Regions from separate parts of the Homo sapiens genome. Here region 2 is linked to region 1. Evidence: promoter capture Hi-C in 16 types of primary human blood cells and fetal thymus (Javierre and others, 2016). All regions are on one chromosome and are shown on one strand. The core of a region is centred on a gene start or on the middle of the fragment in contact, and the rest is flanking DNA. Distances in the headings are between cores, read along the strand shown. Region 1 holds the start of UFM1 (ubiquitin fold modifier 1). Region 2 overlaps SPART (spartin).

Region 1 (7,396 bases), core at 2,022-4,521:
ATTTGTCAGAGGCTACTTCAGTTTTTCTAAAAGTAATGTTTCCATTAAATGAAGAATTCGCACAATATTTAGAGAGAAAATTTAATTATACCAGACTGTTAAATTCCTGTTTTTCACAGTTCAAAATGCCATTTTGTAATAAAGATATTTTACAAATTCTGTGGTTAAAATATTCCACGTTTTGTGATTAAGCCTCAAATTTAGAAACATTGTAGTCAATGAGCTTCGTAGAAAAGTCATTTCTTTTTCTCACTGAATTTTAGAAAATATTTGGGAAAAATATGTAACTGTAACAATCAAATGTAGCACATTTAGAGCTATAGTCTTCTGTAAGGGCTTGCCTGGACTTGCTAGGCTCCGATCTCACCTGGGTTTCATTGTTCTTTTTGACTCAAAGGAATGTAAATATTCTCTAACCTTCTAGTCCTTACCTTGAAAAATAACACAGCATTTACATATTCCCAAGTACTTCTGTAACCAAATCCACTCTCTCCTCTTTGTATAAGGCTTCTTGTCACTAAATTATGACTTATAGCCAAGGCATCAAAGTTTAAAGTCTATATTTTGTCATTGATTTGTACAAAGTGGTTAATACCAGCCAAAAATAAATCTTAATGAATTTTGAGTCATTATTATCATTGCTTCAATTATATCAATGCCTTTTAGTGGATTTTGAGGGGAGAAAAGGCAATAGAAAAAAATGAACAAATTAAAGTACTATTAAAATACCAGTCAATTATTAATTGATCAGTCTATAATTTGTTCCCTGTAATATAAAGTATTTGGAATAGAACACCTTAAGATTTATTCAGGTGCAGATGTTTCAAGATTACATAATTTGACTATCAGATGGTTCTAGTCATAATCGTAAATACAATCAAATTATGGTGAAAATGAAAGAATTTTTTTTGGCATCCAGAGGAATATAAAAAATAAAGTTGGCTATAAAAATAACTAGTCAGAAGAATTTCTATGACTATGGAAGCAAATCTTTTTAGTCCTTATGTAAATTTAATTTCCTTCTGGCTTTCTTCTAATAATGGGAAATTTATATGCATTTGCAAATAGAATATTGGTATGCTTCATTGACATTTAATGAGGTCTAACATGGTCACACTGTGCACTTCTACAGTCATTTCTGCCTCTACATGATACTAATTGGATCTTTTCCAAAACACATTAGGCCATTTATGCTATTTGTTGTCTTAAAATGTTCCATTGCCAATTATCTCCAAAAATTTGCTCCAGAGTTTGCTTCTGATTACAGCCATTAAACGTACTTCAACATTTTAACTTTTCAGTAAAAGAGAAGGTCCTTGTTTTGCTATAAAATTTTCCAATTGCAAATCCCTTCACAAAGTTAAAAAAATTGATTATAAATAAATCCATTTATAATTTCTTTCTTGTCCTAAGCAAAATAAAACTCAGGAGGCTGCAGAAATCATGCTGTGACTCTGAGGAGACAAACATGAGAAGCAGAGTTGGGGACTGAGGTGAAAAAGAATTCTAAATATTTAGAAACAGCTGCTTTTTAATATCTCAAGAGATGTTATTTTGATATATTATACAAATGTATTTTCTGAAGCAGCAGAATCTGAGTACTAAAGTCACACTGTGGGACTGAATTCTGTTTTCACCACTTTTTATACATACAATAAAAGCTCTCTGATTAATATCCATTTTTCTCTTTAGGATTTTGCCACGTTTTGATTCATGAGCAGAAACCAAACTATAAATAGCAGGATGCAAATTTTGTTTCAAAATATATTATATGTAGTCTTATAGACTGTAAATATGTACACTCATCTCTTTCATTATTATTTGGCTAGCTGACAATAGGTAGACACAATCACAGTTTTATCCTTATTACTATTCTCACAAGTTTTAGTCACACCCACTAATTGAATAGTTTCAGCTATTAAGGCTGTAACTGTTGATCCCTGTATCTGTCAATCAATATTTGGCTTCATCTACATATATGGTAAGACCATTATTTTAAAAAGTGAGGATGGCTGTCATGAGAATGTTGGAGTCTTACTTGCCTACTCAGAACCAGAACTCTCTCCACTGGGAAATGTCACCATAGAAGATCAGTTGGCTGCAAAATTATTGTAAAGATGAATTTGATCTCCATTATCCCTACTACAGTTCCTTCCTGGTTCCTCTCTTAAGTATCTCTCCTTAAGAATCTGATGCATATTCTAAAGATCAACTAGATTGCCCCATTATTTTAATGCCTACCTGCTTCCTCCTTTGTCTATTCATGCTAATGTTTTAAAAGGGCATTTCAGTCATTGTGAGACAGACGCATATTTTCCAAACACAGAGGTTTAGATCTGTAATAAAGTTTAGAGGACAATTTTCTTCCGTCATCACTACACAGGATGTTAGATCCTAGAGAGTTGACGCCTACCTGCCTTACTCATCTTGGATTCCCCAGAGTTTAGCTTAGCGCCGGGCAAATAGAAAGGGTTCAAAGTTGGTTGTTAAATTGAATAAATGTGGTCAGTGATTAGCAACTCAGCGCACTGGTTTAATTAGACCATATAACAAATTACTGAAATCTCCTGTTCATAGATGTGTCTTCCCAACTAGACGCCACGTTCCCCAAACGTAGAAACCTCATTTTTTCTCACCCACCCCAGCGGGAGTCTTGGCATAGATAATTCGTACTTGATAGCTCTCTTACTTAACCGAAATTCAATAGTTATAAATCAGTATCGGAAAGTAAAGCGTGAAGGAGAAACTATGAGAAATGTAAAGGATATAACAGGATTGGTTTGCTGGAAAGACGGAAGAAAACTAATGATAAAGCAGTGTTACAATTCCTGCTTCTGGAGCACCAATTAAGCTTTTCCGCGCTCAGGTTGCCTTAGAAACTTTAGAGCGCGTCCGCCCCAGCCCCGCCCCCGGCCTCGCCCCGAGCTTCGCCCCAAGTCCATCTCGCTCTTCATCCGACTACCCCATACCCTTACTTCCGCCCCAACCTGCCAACTGGAACCTAGGGTCCTACGCTCTATGCCCACGCTTATTCTGCCTGACTAAAAATATGGTAGCAAATTACCAAAGTTAGAAAGATATCTTATAAATATAATCCATACTTTTTTCTTAGATATATAAACGCAAAAGCACAAGATATTTGTAATTTAAAAGCGCCATCTAGCATGAGCTCTTAGGGCCAATTTTCAGGCAGTGCGTTGGATAGCAACAACTTCGGAGGTCCCCAGATTGCAGAGGGAGACGTGGACGTGAGTGGAGCGGGGCGGTCCCCAGCACACTAGAGGAAGTCGTGCTACCCCCGCGGAGTTGTCGTGTGTTCTGGATTCATTCCGGCACCACCATGTAAGTGTTTGCTTACCGACTGCCATAATTCCTGGTCCAGCTGCCCGACCCTGACTCTCTCCCGCTCTTTTCCTCAGGTCGAAGGTTTCCTTTAAGATCACGCTGACGTCGGACCCACGGCTGCCGTACAAAGTGTGAGTAGCTCGGCCGAGATGGGCCTTTTGGGGCCGGACAAGACGGGGCTGGGTTGGGGATGATCCGAGCTTTTCCAACAACTACCCCACGCAGTCTTCATCTCTTCACTTCATCTACTTTCCTGGCTCGCGCCCTTCCAGGAGCCTTTCCCACCGGAGCCTGCGAGGAGAGGTCCGTACTTGCTCGCTAAGTGTCAGCTTGGCAGCTTGGCCCCGTCACGAGGGTGTGGGTGTGTTTCTGATTAGTGACCTCCCCTCGGAATTCATTTGGTGGGCAGGTGGCGCGGGAGGACAGGTGGACCAGGTTCTGGTAATTTGTTGGGATTCTTAAACAGTCCCCATCTGCTGGATATTAGAAAAGCGTTTCACCGCTTTGGCCAGCTGGTTGAGGAAGTTAAGGAAGACATTCCATCTTGATAGTCAAGACTTTGAAATTACTTGAACATTTGTTATTCCGCGGCTTCTGAGTTTCGTTGTGTATGAGTAACTCAGCAGTCGGGCATCACAAAGTAATGAGACTCAGATCACACCCTTCCTATGCTGGGATTTAATAGAGTATTTGGTAGGAATGGGAAATGCAGATAGGGGATAGTTTATCCATGTGGGGCCTTTACTTATCCTTCGCAGTTGAGTGATAGATTTTAAGTAAACACTCTTGAGGTTATTGCAGTTGGAAGTAGCATGAAATGTAGCAAAGAACAGGATTACAATAGAATTTTTTGCATAATTAATTAGTACCTTGGCCTACCTAGCTGACTGATAAATTTCAATGATTTACCAATCCATGATCCGTACAACCTCTCAGCCTTTTCCTCCCTTGATCTTTTCATCTCCAAAATATCCCTGTTACACTTTATCTCAGGTGTTCATGGTTGCAGCCTAGAACCTTAAGATTCCAATAATTGCTCCATCTCTGAGATGTCGTTTACAGGCACTCTTATGGATAAATACATTCTCTCCTACATGATTTACTATAATTTCTCATCTACAACGTTTCATTTAATCCATTAATCACAGTGATTTTTTATCTGTAGCTATCCCCACTTCTATTCCTTACCTTACTCCTTATATAGTTAAGAGTCCATTGGTCCACCTTTAAATCATTCTCATGCAAACACCCTCAACTCTGGTGGCCCTGTCTCTCCTCTCAGCATATTTTGGTTAGTGAAACACCAACTCTGAAACCAGCTGTTTGTATTATCTGTACATAGCTGACTGCCCCTGGAGAAAATAACAGACTGGAGGGTTTACATTAAATTCATGACTACAATTAATAGTACCTAGTACTTAATACATTCTTCAAGTTTGCTCATTTTCCTCCTTATTCTCAGAAAAGATTGTTTAAAAATTTCAAACTTTCCACAGCTGCTGTCTCCCTTGCTATCAAGCCATCAGAGGGAAATTCTATCATCTTTACACCAATGTAAACCTACCACTACATGGATAAATCCGTTAATTTCCCATCCTGTTAGAATGGAAAAAATGACTTCACTCCTATGAAAAACCACTTGAGCTATAGTTCCCATCTATTTCAGTCTTGTCAAGGTTAAAGTAGATGGAGTCCAGTGCCCCCTCTCTCCTCATGATTGGTTTTTCCCTTTCTACTGGATTATTCTCATCAATATGCAAATGTACTCGAAAGAGAGCGTGAGAAGGAAGGAAGAAAATGATAGAGTAGGACAATAACATTAAGAGCCTGGAACATTGTACCAGTTCAGTTAATATGTGGTGACTGAATGAATTTAGTAGGTACAACTGTTGTTTAGTATGTATGTGTGCGTGTGTAGTTGTGTGTGTATGTGTATAAGGATGTGTGTGTGGAAAATTCACATAACGTGTAAATGTGTGTACAAGGGTATCTGTGCTATATTTTCTTTTCAAAGTACATGGTAACTAGTACTTGGGTACTTGACAAGCTTGCCCTTTTAATCTTTGCTTCCTTTACACATGTTCTTTTCTGTGCTTAGAATGCAGTCTCATGATCACAACATATTTTATAGTAATAAAAATCTCACCTCTATGAAGTTTGTTTTTTTTTCTTTCTTTCTTTTTTTTTTTTTTTTTGTGAAACAAAGTCTCGCTCTGTTGCCCAGGTTGGAGTGCAGTGGCACGATCTTGGCTCACTGCAACGCCCGCCTTCCCAGTTCTTCTCCTTCCTCAGCCTCCCAAATAGCTGGGACCACAGGTGTGTGCCACCTTGCCCAGCTAATTTTTTGTATTTTTAGTAGAGACGGGGTGTCACTGTGTTAGCCAGGATGGTTTCCATCTCCTGACCTCGTGATCTGCCCACCTCGGCCTCCCAAAGTTCTGGGATTATAGGCGTGAGCCACCCCTTCTGGCCAAAGATTTTTCTAATTGTCCACAGAGTTAATCTCGCCCTTCTTGAGTTACCTGTGGACTTAGTCTTTATAATAATTCTTACCAATTTATGTTATTATTTTGTTTATATATTTATTTAAAAAACAAATGATGCCAGTAATTTACTTCAAAAATTCTCATTAATGTAAATTTATTCAAAACACTGGGATAATTTAAGTACCGATTTTATGAAATGACTGGCAAATACAACTTTAAATCTAGATAAGATCTGTGGAGTCACTGTAACTCTCATTTTTTCTAATTTTCTGCCAGTTAGAACTTGCATTAAAAGATGTTTTCATTTTTGATTTGTTTTTATTGGCTTGTCTGTGGACACTCACCAACTTAATATACAGATAGAAACTTATTTTAATGAGCATCAGTATGACATCTAGGTATATTGTAAGGACATTTCCAAGTCTCCGATTTAAAAGTGAATTGAACTCCAAGGGTTTAGAAGTTCTCCAATTGATGCAGAGTTTTAGGAAAATGAATCTCAGATTCTTAACTACATATACACTGCAAAAATACTTTGTAAAATACTGTTGCCTAGTTTGTAAACTATGACATTGCCAGTTCGTTAGTTTTTAAACAAATGGCTATCCTTTATATGTTTTTATTTTTTTCCACCCCCCAAAAACATTAGTAAAGAAAGGGTAAAAATGATACCCATTTTCATCCTTTAATAGTATTTTGGAGTTGTGGAATGAGGGCAGCCAAGAAATCTATTCACATTTCTATTACTGAAAACTGGTACCATATGCTGTTCCTGTTATAATGATTCTTATAGTCAGAGATCTGTAGACTGAGTGAGGAGCCTGGGCATATACATGAGAATAATGGTAGCTGGTATTGAGACACTTAAGAACAATACAATAATATGGTGGACAAATAGAGAAGTTTCAGTGAGAAATGTTAGCTTGTAAGTCTCCTCTGCTTTGAAAGATTGTTTTCTGTTTTCACTCATTGTAATTTATGTTACCTTAGGGATCTTATTTTTTAAAAGAAGTTTTAAAAACCTCTTACTGTGTCTTAAAGTGTTTTCTTAAGGTATAAAGTAAATTTCTGTTTTGATTTTTTTTATTGGAAAGTTCATACAGATTGACCCTGGGACTAAGTCATTAAGAAAAAAAAAATATATTTATTCATGATCTTTAAAATACTTGCCGTTATATGAGTCAGTTAACAAAATCACTCATCCCTCTCCAAAATGTTATTTCACATTTTACTTAGCCCACTTTAAATGATGGTAGAAAAATCACTTCATTATTGGCATTTTGACATAATGAACTTCATGCATTTTCATTAATTTGGTCTACTAATTTTGAACATGATTATTAAGAGTACACAGAAGGTTCATCAAAAGCTTTATGATCCAGTGATGCTTCCCAAGTAGCCTTCTACTTATAATGAAAATGATAACATTACTGGGTCAAGTGCATAGATATTTAGATGGGAGGTAAAGTGGACTGAAGACCAAGGAGAGCTTCACCTTTTTGAAATCCATCTCTAGAAACAAACAGCAGTTCATATGCTAGACTTACATGTATGAAAGTGTTAGA
Region 2 (7,396 bases), core at 3,201-5,700, 2.0 Mb before region 1:
GGCAATTTTGATACACTGAAAAGCTGTGAAGTGCTTCCTTCAAGTGAAAAGGTTAAAGTTTTCAACTTAACAAGAAAAAAAATCATATGCTGAGGTTGCTAAGATCTACCATTAATAACATATTTTCTATTCCTGAAATTGTGAAGAAGGAAAAAGAAATTAGTGCCAGTTTTGCTGTTGTCCCTCAAACTGCAAAACTTATGGTCAAAGCATGTGACAAGTGTTTAGTTAAGATGGAAAAGGCTGAGATATGAACAGAAACATGTTCCAATTGAAAGCAATTGGGTGCCACACTATCCATGGTTTCAGGCATCCACTAGGGGTCTTGCAACTTATCTCCCTTGGATAAGGGGTTAGGGGGGACTACTGTATATATACATAAAAATCATTAAACTATACATTTAAGATCAGGGTACTATATGCATTTTATGTGATTCCTCAATAAAACAGATAAATAATAAAGCCATAACTCACAAGGACAAATAGGGAAGATGAAAAGTCAACAGTACTTGGTGTCAAAAAAGGAGGCAGACAAGTGAAAACTCCCAAAACACACTTGAGAAAACAGATGCTTTAAACTGTCAGTGGGAAAATCAGAGACGCAGCTGCACTTACGTCACATCAAGAACCTCCAAAGGCATAAGAATTGATGGAATTCAATCTTCCTATGGAAAGGAAGTAGACAAAGAGCTGAAAAAAGAGGACTGGTTGAAAGCCTATTTACAAATTAGCACCCTCAGATCTTTCCTACACCAAGCAATCAGGACGCTGTTTCTCTACAGCCCTGAAAGACTGAGTGCTTTGATCTAGAAGAGTGTAAAATAAAGTGAGGATAAGAAACTATCAGGCATGATTAAGGGTAAAAACCAAAAGCAGGGGGATTAAGTGAAATGTTACACATTGATTATTGAGACCCACAGCCTTCTTCCCCACAACTTGGTAATTAGAGTTTTGGCTGCCAGGTACCCCTCAAGAAAGGAGATTGGAAGTTATCTTCTTGAGGAATCTGATCATCACCAAGAAGAAAGACACAAAGAATAGTGACAGTGAGAGTTCCCTAAGGAAAACTGTCCAAGCAATTCACCGTTCAGAAGCCATAGTTGATAGGTTCCACCCATAGAATCTCAGATCAGCTTTCTAGTGCTTCACTCACACGCACACACTCACACACAGACACACACACAGCCCAGGATCACAAAACATGAGGCAAACATCCAGTATAAAGGATTAAAAGAAGAGCAATGTAATTTGGTTGAAATGGACAATGTGCAGGAAACGTAAAAAAAAAAACCCTATCATTTATATCAACATAAAGAAAAAGAAAATATCGCATCCATAAAATAAAAAGTGGGATGCGTGCATACTGAAAGAAGGATATTCGAGTGACAAAAGGAACTCCGGGAAATTAAATATTTAAAACGCAGGAAGGAAAAACTCAAGAAGGATGAGGTCATACAATTATAGAAAATGCCCAGAAAGCAGAGCAAAAAGACAGAGATGAAAAATAGGCAATAATAAATAAGAAAATTAGGACCCAGTCTATAAGGCATATCATTTGAATAATAAAACTTCTAGAAATATGTGAGGCTGAGGCGGGCAGATCACCTGAGGTCAGGAGCTCGAGACCAGCCTGACCAATATGGTGAAACCCCGTCTAAAAATACAAAAAAATTTCCAGGGCATCATGGCATGCACCTGTACCCCAGCTACTCAGGAAGCTGAGACAGGAGAATTGCTTGAACCCGGAAGGCAGAGGTTGCACTGAGCCGAGATCATGCCACTGCACTCCAGCCTGTTCACAGAGCACGACTCCATCAAAAAAAAAAAAAAAAAAAAAAAAACCAACCAACAAACAAAAAACCTCCTAGAAATAGAGAACAGAGAAAAAATAAGGGATGAAAGAATTAAAGAAATAATTCATAGAATTTCCTAGAATTGGAAAACATGAATTTCCTAATTTAAAAAGACCAACAGGTTGGGCACAGTGGCTGACACCTGTAATCCCAGCACTTTAGGAGACTGAGACAGGAGGATCGCTTGAGTCCAGGAGTTTGAGATCAGCCTGGGCAACATAGTGAGACCAGCTCTACAAAGAAAACATCAAAAAATTAGCCAGACATGCTGGCGCGTGCCTGTAGTTCCAGCTACTCAGGAAGTGAGGCAGGAGAATCACTTGAGTGCAGGAATTCAAGGCTGCAGTGAGCTATGATCACACCACTGTACTCCAGCCTGGGTTGAAAGAGCAAGACCCCATCTCTAACAAATAAAAGTAAATAAAAAAACCAATGGGCAAAAAATAAGAAAAAAAGGGGAGGCTGAGGTGGGCAGATCACAAGGTCAGGAGATCGAGACCACCCTGGCTAACAAGGTGAAACCCTGTCTCTACTAAAAATACAAAAATATTAGCCAGGCGTGGTGGCAGGCGCCTGTAGTCCCAGCTACTCAGGAGGCTGAGACAGGAGAATTGCTTGAACCCGGGAGGCGGACCTTGCAGTGAGCCGAGATCACACCACTGCACTCCAGCCTGGGCGACAGAGCAAGACTCTGTTTCAAAAAAATAAAAATAAATAAATAAATAAGAAAAAAAGATTTCACACCAAGAAACATACCATGACATTTTAGAACACTAAGCTCAAAAGGATCATCTTTAAAATACTTACACACAAAAAAAGAGAGAGAAGTAAGAGTGCTAAGGAACTTCTTAAAGGCAACAATAGAAGAAGGAAATTATACATTTAATTCATAATTCTGAGTAAAAATAGCTTCTAAACCCAGCCAAGTGATTGCTCAGTTATTACATCTTCTGTTTGCTGGGTACCATGTTTGATGAAAGGAATCCCAAGACTGATGATGAGTTTCCAAGATAACAATTAGGCAAACACTCCAGGGTGGAGTAGGAGACAACAGAAAAGAATTTTTTAAGAAAGTAAAACTGATAGAATACCTAATGTGATTGTAAGCTCTGAAAAAAGATCTACACAACTGTGAGAGTATTCAGGGTTCCATTAGTAATAATTAAAAACTAAGGATTAACTCTAGGGAAAATGATGTTGAGCAAGAAATAAAAAGTAATCATAATGTACTAAATGTTTCAGTTTTGATTGGTGTCATAATATACACAATGAATCTCAATATAAACAAAATTATGGTACAACCATATTGAAAGATGGGAAGATGGATGGATAAAAAGTTTATGTGCATGCGACAAAGGATGAAAGAGATAAAACTTCATCTTTCTCACTGAGAAGTTAATGGACAGTGCCTAAAACTGAAAAAGTGCCAATATATTCGCACTGTTTAGAGTACAAAAAAGACCAAAAGAATTGGGTAAGAAAAATGATACAAGCTGACTTTGGGAGGAAGGGGTAAGATTTTTCTTAAATCTATGTGTATGATAGAAAATTTAATTACTATTAAAAAAGTAAATGGAAGCTTTAGAGCAACTATGTCAAACAGAACTGTAATGCAAGCCACATATGTAATTTATACTTTTCTAATAACATTAAAAAGGTAAAAAACAGGTGAAGTTAATTTCAATGATAGTATCTTATTTATCCAAATATATCAAAAATATTATTTCAATATGCAGTTAATATAAAAACTTTCAGTTAAATATTTTAGCTTTCTTTTTTTTGGTATGAAGTCTTCAAAACTCAGTATGTGTTTTACACTGAAAAGATAGTTCAATTCCAACTAACCCCATTGCAAGTGCTCAATATCCACATGTACCTAGTGGCTACTGTCATTAGATGTGGCAATTCTTTTCCTGTGATCTCATGAAAACTTACGATAGAAGAATTTCACTGATATGAAACTATTTTAGCAGCAATCTACACTATGAAAGCACAGAAGCATCACAGAAAGCATTCATTAAAATTGGTCTAGCTTCCGATTAATAATATAACTATACTTTCTAACCTGAAGTGCCACTAGTCAGCCTTATTATGCAACAACTTCATGGTAGTCAACAGAATATATTCAGTACCCAATTTAGAAAATACCATATACAATTGACCATATACAGACCCACGTATTTGCTCTACCCCACAACCCCTATCAATATTAACAATCTCTTCTCCTGGAATACTATCCTGTTGTGTCATAAGATTGCCACATCTTTCCAAAGAAACCACAAGACAGGCATTTTGTATTTTATCTTCCTCAGGATACAAGGAGGCCCAGACTAAGGCAGCAGAAAGACAGCAGAGGTTAAATAGGCATCTGTGAGTTGATTGGGAGCTTCACCAGCATCATTAAATTTGTCCAAATGACTTGAACAGGGTCTTGAACAACACTGTGACTTGGCACCCACTTTTGTGCTACATACGATAGGACACCACTATCCCCACGCATCATTTAGAGTACTTAACATATGCTGGACAGTATGCTAGGTGTTTATCTCAATCCTTACAAACAATTCTTGATGCAATATTACTATTAGTACTACTTTGCAGAGAAGAAAATTGAAGTTTGCAAGCATTAATTGCCTTAGATCACCTGTTTTCTGAAAGACCCTGGAATTAAGAATTACTTTTACATTTTTTAAAGGTTATAAAAACAAAGAAGAATGTGCAACAGAGATCATACATGGCCCCAAAAGCCTAAAATATTTACTATCTGGCACTTAACAAAAAAAGTTTACTGACCCTGCACTAGTTTACAGAATTAAATAGTCTGATTCCAAAACAAATCCTCTAAATCAGGGTTTCTCAGTCTTGGCATGGTTGACATTTTGGGTTGGATAATGCTTTGTTAGCAGCATCCCTGATCTCTGTCCACTGGATGCCCATAGCAGCACCACCCCTCATCCCGGTTGTGACAACCAAAAACGTCTCCAGACATTGCCAAATGTACTTTGGGCAGCAAAATCGTCCCCCACTGAGAATTACCACTCTAAATGGTCTTCAAACTGGGGGATGTGTGCCCCCCAGGACAAATGAAGTCTTCCATGGGACATACACCAACGACATGTGTAATTTTAAGAAAAAGGCTTCCAGATCCTTTACTCCCATGAGTACTTCTCACTAAACTGATCTGCCTGAGAATATGCCCATTGTCCAGTTATCATGCTGATTTTTATTCCCCAAGATCCTTTCACAATCTTCCACTTTACAAAATAAAGGCATACTTCTCACCCACTCCTATTCTTACTATGGTACACTGCCCCAGGATGGAAAAGCCTCCCTACCAACAAACAATAAGTCGAAGGGCTCAAAGACCCTCCTTTAATTTAGGCACAACTCCCACTATCCATTCCATTAGGACACAGATTTCCAGTAAACTTCTACTCTTAATAATTATTATTCATTAAAATCCATCAAGTTTTTAAGCTATTCTAATCAACTATTTATAATAACTCAACCCAAAAGAAAAATTACAACTTACAGAATTAGTTATAGGAAATTTTTAAACTTAGCTTCAATTTATATAACTATTGTTATTAAAGCCATGTATCACAGAGATTAATAAAAAGCTTTCAAGCATAAAAATGCATTACCTTAAGATAATATTCTGTGGGGTGGGGGTGATAAAAAAGTAAAATTTTTTAAAAAAGGAAGTGTGTAAAATATAATGTATTTTAAAAATTGATGGTGATGGATATAAAACTACAAAGATATGATACCCCACTGAATACAGGTGAAAGAATGATGTACCAATATTAAAATGTTAATATCAATACCATGTGGGAAACTGCATTCTTTTCAACTAACGCATGATGTAAAATGCTGTAAGTTAACCAAAAGTGTGCAAGAGGGACAGTTTTACAAAAATTATTTGGGGGTTCACAAGCAAATTAAAAGTACTGCTTTAAAAATCACTCACAACTATAATATATAGCAAAGATATAATGGACATGGTCTGTCTCTGGCCCTCAGAAGCACCAAAATTTACTATCTTTTGTTAAGCTCTCTATATGTGTCTGGCACCCTTCTAAGGTTATCCAATCCTCACTCTTGGAGGTTGATATCTGATTTTAAAAATGTTTTACAAATATTGAGCAGCTTGCCCAAGAAGAGAGCTAGTAAATGATACATTCAAATCAGTTCATGGATCAGAAGATTATCTGTCAAGAAAATTAAATGAGCTCTCGCCTGTAATCCCAGCTACTGCACAGGCTGAGGCCGGAGGATCGCTTGGGCCCAGAAGTTCAAGGTTGCAGTGAGCTATGACTGCACCACTGCACTCCAACCAGCCTGGGTGACAGAGCAAGACCTTGTCTCTTTAAAAAAAAAAAAAAAAGAAAGAAAGAAAAGAAAAATGAAAATGAAAATTAGATGAGATGTGTTTGATTCCAAATCTAAAAGTCCTACTATGTTTACAAGTCAGCAGAGTGAGGGAGGGGTGAAGAAAACCCAGAGTGTCCCGTCGTAGAAAGTCATGTGGCTTAAATCTTCAATAGGTAGCATTTGAAAGTAGAAGCGAGGCATAATGAAGGAATATAGCTAGAAGCAATATTTACCTTGGGTATACGTTTATTTCTAAGCTTATTTTACATACGGTGTGATGAAAGATTTCCTAATAATGTGTCAATGGAGGGAACAAGATGGCTACTGAGAAAGAAGAGTGTGCCTGTGTGTAGGGGTGGAGTGGGAGGGCTAATTCCACAGGATTGCTTAATAACCTTCCTTGCTACATCTCCATCTTAAAGAGAAAAAAAGGATACACGAGAGAAGAGCCTGGGTATCTAGAGGTTATATATAAGTCTAATGGTCAATTTCAGTCTAATCTCTGGGGAATCTCAACACAGAAAGAAAAAGGTTTATATTAAAATATCACATTTTTATTTTGTGACTGGGATTTGCTATATCCTCAGCGGTCTCAGAAAATACATTTTACAGAAATAAGGATTGGAGGATGGTGACTTAAAAAAAAGCCTATTCTATTCCTAAGCACAATTAAGTGTCAATCAAGTGTCCTGAAAAGATAAAAACCATTATCACATTATTTCACATTATTTAATTTTCAAAGTTAAGAAGACAAAGTCTTTGAAATGACAATCTGATGTATTAAACAGTACCTACACCAGTGTACAGTCTTCAACAACAAACCAAAATCTGTTCCGATACCAGTAGTTCACCTAAATTCTAATTTTTTAACGTTCTAATAAAACACATTTATTTCAACATAACTACATGTATGTCTGTGTATGTCTTAAAAAATACCCGAGAAAAGGTAAAATTCTGCATTAAAATACCTAGCAATTTAGTTCGATTCCATAAACACTGAAAGAAGTAACACTCTCACTTAACAGTCAACATTACAAGCAGTCTTTAATAATACCGCATTTAACTCCTTAGAGCTAGCACAAGTTGATCTAATGCCTATTTGGCCCTTTACCAAAAAAGCGGAGGGGGCTTTGTCTAACACCTGTATACACCTCCCTCCGTAGCATCCC

The links. The method cuts DNA at HindIII sites, captures the fragments that hold promoters and counts their contacts. A CHiCAGO score of 5 or more calls a contact.
Region 2: a contact is called between a fragment that was not itself captured here and the fragment with the promoter of UFM1 in region 1, in 6 of 17 cell types (monocytes, naive CD8 T cells, total B cells and 3 more). The highest score is 9.7, in monocytes.

What each region holds. Positions count from the first base shown.
Region 1 is chr13:38,346,580-38,353,975 of GRCh38, forward strand. UFM1 (ubiquitin fold modifier 1) reads left to right here and starts at 3,272. Exons shown (of 6, transcript NM_016617.4): 1 at 3,272-3,342; 2 at 3,420-3,476. The coding sequence starts at 3,341. RefSeq lists silencers at 2,802-2,911, 3,609-3,823 and an enhancer at 3,022-3,231. The HindIII fragment of the contact is 2,541 bases long and covers 2,850-5,390 here.
Region 2 is chr13:36,337,812-36,345,207 of GRCh38, forward strand. The region is part of intron 1 of SPART (spartin); the gene reads right to left. Among named protein-coding and RNA genes, the nearest start is that of SPART, 4.9 kb to the right of the region's middle. The HindIII fragment of the contact is 2,041 bases long and covers 3,431-5,471 here.